Regions from separate parts of the Homo sapiens genome. Here regions 2 and 3 are each linked to region 1. The links are contacts of gene promoters, found by promoter capture Hi-C in human tissues and cell types (Jung and others, 2019). All regions are on one chromosome and are shown on one strand. The core of a region is centred on a gene start or on the middle of the fragment in contact, and the rest is flanking DNA. Distances in the headings are between cores, read along the strand shown. Region 1 holds the start of PHYH (phytanoyl-CoA 2-hydroxylase). Region 2 holds the start of NMT2 (N-myristoyltransferase 2). Region 3 overlaps NUDT5 (nudix hydrolase 5).

Region 1 (2,565 bases), core at 20-2,519:
CAAATTACACTTGGGAGGCTGAGGCAGGGGAATGGCTTGAACCTGGGAGGCGGAGGTTGCAGTGGGCCGACATTGCAGAGTGCGGCACTGCACTCCAGCCTGACCACAGAGCAAGACTCCGTCTCAAAAATAATAATAATAATAATAATAATAATAATAATAATAATAATAACAACAATAACAACAACAACATAAATTCGCCTGGCATCGTGGCGCAACCCTGTAGTCCCAACTACTTAGGAGGCTGAGGTGGAAGGATCTCTTGAGCCCAGGAGTGAGCCGAGATCGTACCACTACTGCACTCCAGCCTGGGTGACAGAGTGAGGCCCTGTTTCAAAAAAAAAAAAAAACCAAAAAAGCAAAACCCTAGAAATTCCTTTTAAAGATCTCCTTTCTATCCGGTAACTGCAGAGAGTTGACATAGAATTGCATTGTTTCTTTAGCTTAATCGGTTACTTTCGGAATGTCACTCTCATCAATTAACATGTTATCCTTTCTTTCTCTCTGTTTCTCTCTTTTGGAACGCACTGGCCATCACGGCTCACTGTAACCCTGGACTCCTGGCCTTGGCCCCCAGAAGAGCCGAGACAACAGGCAAGGCGTGTGCCGCCGCGCCAGTCCTCACCCGCTGTCCTTCCCCAAATAGTGTCTTTATATAACTCAGTGGCAATGCCGTAGTCCAGCAGGGAGGCCGCCCTGGGCAGCGCCTGCCTGGCCAGCTCCTGCCCGGGAGGGCACCGTCCTCTCCCCTCCGGAGAGGTCCCGGTCACTGCCTGCCTGGGCCGGTTCCAGGCAGCCCTGCGCGCCTGTGCACCGTGCGCCTGTGATTGGACATCTCTGGGTCTCTGGACAGCTGCCGGGGTCACGCGCCGCCGGTGAAACGACGTCTCCACAAAGAGAGGAGCAGAGGCCCCCAGGGATCCCGGAGGGCAGGGCAACGCGGCAATTGCCCCGACCCCAGGGCGGCCGCGCGTGTCCTCGGGGGACGCAGCCTCTTCCCCGCTCCCCGGCTCCTGGAAGAGACGCGACCCAGGCGGGGACGCGGCGCTGAGCGAGGAGGCGCTGGGGCTGCGAAGCGTGCGACCCCGAGGCCTCCACCCGGACCAGGGCCACCACTCAGGCGGCGGCGCCGGCGCCGGATCCAGCCCGAGCCCCGCGCAGCCCAAAGGATACGACAGCCCCGGCCGAGGGGCGGCCGAGGTGGCCCAGAACAATCTGCAGACGGGCGGCGGCGCGAAGCTGCTCCATGGCTGCGGCGCGGGGAACCCCCACCCCTCCCGGCCTCTGCCCCATTTAGCCCAGCGGGCGGCTCCGCCTCCAGGCGCCGCCCCGGACTGGACGTAAGCGGGATTCCGGGCGGTGCCAGCTCGCGGGCCGGGCTGCTGGGGAGCCCTAGTCCGCTAGAGTCCGCGCGCCGGGCAACCGCCCGGGGCTGAAGTCCTCCCCACACCATGATCCTTCCGTCCTTTATTTTCTTTCTTTTTAAAAAGAAACAAGATCTTGCTCTGTCGCCCAGGCTGGAGTGCAGTGCGCGATCATAGCTCACTGCAGCCTTGAACTCTTGGGCTAATTTTTATTTTTTGTAGAGATGGGGTCTCGCTACGTTGCCCAGGTGGGTCTCAAACTCCCCCCGCCTCCCGTCTCGACCTCCCAAAGTGCTGGGACTACAGGCGTGAGTCATTACCCCTGCCCCGCACCCTGTTTCTGTTCCATCACCAGGACCCTCCCTGCCGCACCGAAGCTCGGGGGCCCAGTGACCAGGCCGAGGTCACACAGTGACAAGTGGCTGGGCTGGGACCTCACTCACTCTCCTAACGTCATGGCTTCCATCTGTTTAACCCTACGTGACTGCTCCTTCCACTGACAGCTGAAAGAATAAAATCTCCGATTTAAACAAAAAGTTTGCCGGGCGCGGTGGCTCACGCCTGTAATCCCAGCACTTTGGGAGGCCAAGGCAGGCGGATCACGGGGTCAGGAGTTCGAGACCAGCCTGGCCAACTTGGTGAAAACCCGTCTCTACTAAAGATACAAAAATTAGCTGAGTGTTGTGGCGCACGCCTGTAATCCCAGCTACTGGGGAGGCTGAGGCAAGAGAATCACTTGCAACCGGGAGGCGGAGGATGCAGTCAGCGAGATGGCGCCACTGCATTCCAGCCTGGGTGACAGGGCAAGACTCCGTCTCTAAACAAACAAACAAACAAACAAACAGGTTTTTAGCCGGGTGCGGTGGCTCACGCCCGTAACTCCAACACTTTGGGAGGCCGAGGCAGGAGGATCGCTTGAGCTCAGGATCGCTATAGATCGAAAGCAGCCTGGGTAACATAGTGAGAACACCTGATCTACAAAAAAATTAGCCGGGCGTCGTGGCGGGCGCCTGTAGTCCCAGCTACTCAGGAGGCTGAGGCAGGAGAACGGTGTAAACCCAGGAGGCGGACCTTGCAGTGAGCGAGATGGCGCCACCGCACTCCAGCCTGGGCGACAGAGCAAGACTCCGTCTCAAAAAAAATAAAAAATAAATCAATAAATTAAATAAATAAAAATTCCAGACATTGTATGAGGAAGCAT
Region 2 (2,565 bases), core at 43-2,542, 1.9 Mb after region 1:
CAATGATCAATCATTTCAAGAATCTCTCTACGAACTGAGTAAACCATCTGTGACTCAGGCCTCCCTATCATGTTTTTTAAGCTGACCCACTTCTCCATCACTCACCATGGTTCGAAAAATCTCACTTCTAAGGGTGTAGCAAGAACCGCTCTGTGCCAGCGCATAGTTTGAATCCAATAGGGTAAAAGGGTAATGTAAACAGCACTTTAAAAGGACACCAGTTTTTATTTAAAATGACCCACTGCCTCTAAAAAGAGAGCATCAACACCGGCCTTCACCTGAAGCAATCCTTTTCTCCAACAGAAGAGCAAATCAAGTCTGCAGGGTTCGGGGGCAAAGGGAAAGGATTAAGAAATCCGATCAAGTGTGAAAATGCGTGGTGCATCGAGTTTTGGAGATCAAATACCAGCTTTGCAAACAGGATACGGCCAGGTCAGCGGGAGCCCGGTTCAGGGGATCGGCCCTGCTCTGAAGAGCTCTAGGGACAGGCGAGGCGGTGCAAAGCCCAGTATCCCCAGCAGGGGCCGGGCCCGGGACCCCCTCGGCGCCAGAACTTTGCGCAGTTCGCCGCCTGCGGCCCCGACACCATCGGGGCACCTCCACGCCGCTCCACCCACGTCTTTGCCCATTCTTTTCGGGTGGCGGCTGCGGAGAGGGAGTCTGAAGGGACTTAACAAGGATGGCAGGGAGCAGAGGAGGGCGACCTCCTACCCCAGGCTGCGGCCGCCACAAAGGGAAGGGCGTAGCGCCTCTCCTCGGCGCCCACCGGAGCCACCCGCGGGCGAGGGCAACAGGCGCCTCCTGGGCCAGGCCGCCGGCGGGGATGGGCGAGGCTGGCCGGGGGCGCGCGGCAAGTGACAGTAGCGTCTCCCCGCCCGGGCCCCAGCCTCCCCGCCCACCCCGGGCCTCGCCTCCCCGCGCACTGCACTCTCCCGCGAGCCGCGCGCCCCGGACCTCACCATGGGCTCCGCGCCACGGAGAAGCCATCGCGGGGCGGAGCGGCCGAAGAACCCCCAGTCCTGGGAGCCACCCCCGAACGGGAGACCGTGGCGCGCGCGGTCCCCGCCCTGTCGCGCCCGGTGCGCCAGCGCGCCGCCCCTACCCTTTGGCGTGCTCCGTCTCCTCCTCATTGTCCCCGTCTATCCCGCACGTGTCCTGGTCGTCCAGTTCCAGGCTCTGCTGGCTGGCCGCAGACTCGCTGTCCTCCGCCATCGCGGCGGCGCTGGCTGGGGAGGCGGTGCTCGGGGCCGGGCCGGAGCGGCCGCAGCTCCCTCTAGTGCCTCCCGCCGTACTGCTTGGAGTCGGAGCCCGGGCGCTACGCCCCGCCCCGCCCCGCCCGCGCCCCGTCCCGCCCTCCGTCCCGCCCCCTCCCCGCCCTCCGTCCCGCCCCGCCCTCCATCCCCGCCCCTCACCGTCCGCGCCCAGCCCGCCGGCCCCGCCCTGCCCGCCGGCCCCGCCCTGCCCCACGGGCTTGAACCCCGCCCACCTCTTCGTCCCTCCCCACCAAGCCCCGCCTCTCCCCGTCCCGCCGGCTTCAATCCAGCTCTCTAACCCCGCCCGCCTCTGAGACCCCTCCCCTCCAGCCCCGCCTTTCCCCACCCTGCCGGCTTCAAACCCGCCCTCTAACCCCGCCCACCGCCGCAGCCCCTCCCAGATGGCCCCGCCCCTCCCCGCCCCGCCAGCTCCAACCCTGCTCACCCTGGCCAGCCCTGCACAGGGCCGAGTCCTGTACATCCAGGCCTGCGCGGTGCCTCTGCCTGGGGCTCGGCTCTCAAAGCTGCAAACGTGCAGACTTGACATCCTGAGTGGCGGCATTTTTGGAACACAGGCCATGCGATTTTACTTCTGGACGAATTAGGGAGCGCTCCCAGCCCGTGCAGGGGTTTTTCCCACTCAGGAGTAGGCACTCAGGGATGGGGCTTTCCAGAAACTCTTCCCGCCCCTCCACATACATGTTAACAATTCCATTTCGCATCTATCTATCCATCTAATACATTATAAAATCAAATTCAAAGTCAAAAACAGTATTTCCAGCCCTCCACCGCCCTGTCCCAACCAGGCTTGCAGCACTAAAACTCTTGACAGAAATTTTTGAGCTACCCCTGCTTTCCCTGGACACTACTACGGACGGCTCAGACCAGAACAGACATCTTGAGGGACTTGGGGACGTGTCCACGATGCTGGGGGATTGGACAGTTTCAGGTAGGCTACCCTGGCTTTCCCAAAGTCAAGGTCATGACCTAGATTTCCAAGCAAACGTGCACGGCCTTCTGTGCTGAAATTGTCCGCTGTCTCTCTCAGAAGAGGGAAGGGAGGCATTCTGTAGTACTGCCAAATAGAAGACCGGTGAAGTTCAGCCTCTCTTATTTGCTACTGCATTCTGTACAGAGCAGTCCTGTCCTTTGCTTTGCTGAGATGATCTTGTTCAAATGTGCTGCTAGGCCACCGGAAGTCTCCGCAGTGGTTTTGCAAAGATAATCATCAGAACCCGCTCAGTGAGGAAAATGAGACTTTAAAGAGCCACCTGAATTTTTTGGTGTGGGTCCTTTTTTTGCAGAAGATACT
Region 3 (2,565 bases), core at 32-2,531, 1.1 Mb before region 1:
TAGTACTACAAGTTCTGTTATGAAAAGAGCAGGCCCTTATCCCATTTATTGTATATTATTATTTCCTCTTTCTTTATTCCTTCATTTTCGGACCTTGCCTGTCCGAAGGTCAAAGTCTTTTTTTCTTACCCACACACATGGTTGTTAATTCAGCTGTATATAGAATTATAGACCCAAAGCCAGTTGTCTATGAAACTGTAAGGCATTGCTTAGTTGTCTTACTTCTGGTGCTGCTGTTGAGAAGTCCAAAGCTATTCTTATTCTTGATCTTTTTGCCATGTGACCTGTCTTCCTCCTCTGGAAGCTTGTAGTTAGTCACTTTCATGTCGATGTTATTGTACTGGGAAGTCAAGTGGGTCCTTTCAATCTGGAAACTTCTTACTATGCTTCTTTACAGGGAATTTTTTTCTTGAACGACTTCACTGATGATTTCCTCCCCTGTGTTTTCTCTGTTGTTTCTTTTAAGAACTGTTACTTGGACCAGGCACAGTGGCTCACACCTGGAATCCTAGCCCTTTGGGGGACCAAGAGTCTGAGACCAGCCTGGGTAACATGGCAAAACCCTGTCTCCACAAAAATAAAAAATAAAAAAATTAGCCGGGTGTGGTGGTGGGCACCTGTAGTCCCAGCTACTCAGGAAGCTGAGGCAGGAGGGTCATTTGGACCCAGGAGTTGGGGGTTGCAGAGAGCCGAGATCACGCCACTGCACTCTTACGTTCCACGGTTCTCTAACCTACCCCACCTAACTTCGGCTTCAAAGAAAATACAGCCCACCCAGCATCAACTCTCTTCCCAACTGTCCTAAAGGAAAAAGTGAGTCTGCTCTTTGTTTCTTCTGGGACCCAAAGTGATCATACTACCCATCTGATCTTCAATTTGTCCCCAAGACAGCAAGCTTCCCTATTCTAAAATACAATCAATAACAAAACCAACTGTATGAATATTCATAAAGTGCGTTTACAAATCAAATATCTGATTGACTATCATAGGTAACCCTTGTGGCCAACCTGTGAAAGGTGAGATGATGTTTTAGGAAAGTGGCGGTGAGGCCGGGTGCGGTGGCTCACGCCTCACGCCTACAATCCCAGCACTTTGGGAGGCCAGGGCGGGTGGATCACGAGGTCAAGAGATGGAGACCATCCTGGCCAACATGGTGAAACCCTGTCTCTACTAAAAATACAAAAATTAGCTGGACGTGGTGGGGTGCGCCTGTAGCCCCAACTACAGGGAAGGCTGAGGGAGGAGAATGGCTTGAACCCAGGAGATGGAGGTTGCAGTGAGCTGAGATCGTGCCACTGCACTGCAGCCTGGCGACAGAGCAAGACTCCATCTAAAAAAAAAAAAAAAAAAAAAAAAGTGGTGGTGAGAGGGACAAAGACCCTCACTCCCCCGGACCTCATTTTCCAGTGAGGAGAAAGGAAAAACAGTGAGGAAGAACACAAAATTTATGTCAAGTGACTCAGCGTTTCATGAAGAAAGATTAAAAAGGATGAGAAGTGTGGGGAAGATGGGAAGAGTAATCTACACGGAGTGATCAGGCAAGGCCTGTTTAATTTGGTGACTTCTGAATGGAGACCTGAAAGCAATAAGGAAGTAAACCACGTAGAAGTTTAAATATTTAGAGACAGACATTAGCATATTGAAACCTGCAGCCCTACTAAGAAAACAGGCACTTATTCCTTTGAAAGTACCATAGATGATAATTTATTAGGTAAACTTTTTTTTTTGAGATGGAGTTTCGCTCTTGTTGCCCGGCTGGAGTGCAAAGGCATGATCTCGGCTCACTGCAACCTCTGCCTCACGGATTCAAGCGATTCTCCTGCCTCAGCCTCCCGAGTACCTGGGATTACAGGCTCCTACCACTGCACCCGGCTAATTTTTACATTTTTAGTAGAGATGGGGTTTTGCCATGTTGGGCAGGCTGGCCTCGAACTCCTGACCTCAGGTGATCCACCAGCCTCAGCCTCCCAAAGTGCTGGGATTACAGGCGTGAACCACCGTGCCTGGCCGCTAAAAGAGAGTATTTCTTTGGAATGCAATCAGCCTCAAAGGGAAACAGTATCGTGCAGCAATCCACTGATTCCGTGAATGACAAAAATGAGCTATTTCAAGAGCATATTCTTAACTATGAGATTCCCAAACATTTCAGAAGGACTGTAAAAGTACCTCAGAAATTTTTAGAAACAGAAAAGGAATGTTGTTTTTAGCACCATTTCAAAAGCAGAAGCCAAATAGTGCCATTCGGGGGCCAGTCACTGCCAGCAACACGCTGCAGAAAGAACGAGAAATGAGCTTTAAATTCCGTGCTTTGTAAGCCAGCGTCTCCGCCACTGCAACGGAGTTTGCCTTCACTGACTCAACGCTATTTCAAGATTTAAAAGCAAACTTTGATATAAATTTTATCCACTTCATTAGTTAGAATTTAAGGTAATTTGCATATTGCCAATATGTGTATGGTATGAAAAAGATACATGTACACGATGTTGAGTGTTCTACAATTTTTTTTTTTTTTTTTGAGACAGAGTCTTGCCTTGTCGCCCAGGCTGGAGTGCAGTGGCGCGATCT

Evidence for each region. The method cuts DNA at HindIII sites, captures the fragments that hold promoters and counts their contacts. A contact is called where the count stands out against the background at its distance.
Region 2: the fragment with the promoter of NMT2 here is called in contact with the fragment with the promoter of PHYH in region 1 in 1 of the 25 tissues and cell types used here (aorta).
Region 3: a contact is called between a fragment that was not itself captured here and the fragment with the promoter of PHYH in region 1, in 2 of the 25 tissues and cell types used here (dorsolateral prefrontal cortex and lymphoblastoid cells).

The regions. Positions count from the first base shown.
Region 1 is chr10:13,298,795-13,301,359 of GRCh38, forward strand. PHYH (phytanoyl-CoA 2-hydroxylase) reads right to left here and starts at 1,270. Exons shown (of 9, transcript NM_006214.4): 1 at 1,174-1,270. The coding sequence starts at 1,248. It overlaps LOC124902377 (a long non-coding RNA gene), which reads left to right and starts at 1,395. Exons shown (of 2, transcript XR_007062056.1): 1 at 1,395-1,612. RefSeq lists enhancers at 260-880, 1,457-1,596 and a silencer at 857-1,276. The HindIII fragment of the contact is 22,205 bases long and covers 1-2,565 here.
Region 2 is chr10:15,167,401-15,169,965 of GRCh38, forward strand. NMT2 (N-myristoyltransferase 2) reads right to left here and starts at 1,293. Exons shown (of 12, transcript NM_004808.3): 1 at 1,103-1,293. The coding sequence starts at 1,212. RefSeq lists a silencer at 663-1,492. The HindIII fragment of the contact is 12,871 bases long and covers 1-2,565 here.
Region 3 is chr10:12,187,397-12,189,961 of GRCh38, forward strand. All of the region lies in intron 1 of NUDT5 (nudix hydrolase 5), which reads right to left. Among named protein-coding and RNA genes, the nearest start is that of NUDT5, 7.2 kb to the right of the region's middle. The HindIII fragment of the contact is 4,727 bases long and covers 1-2,565 here.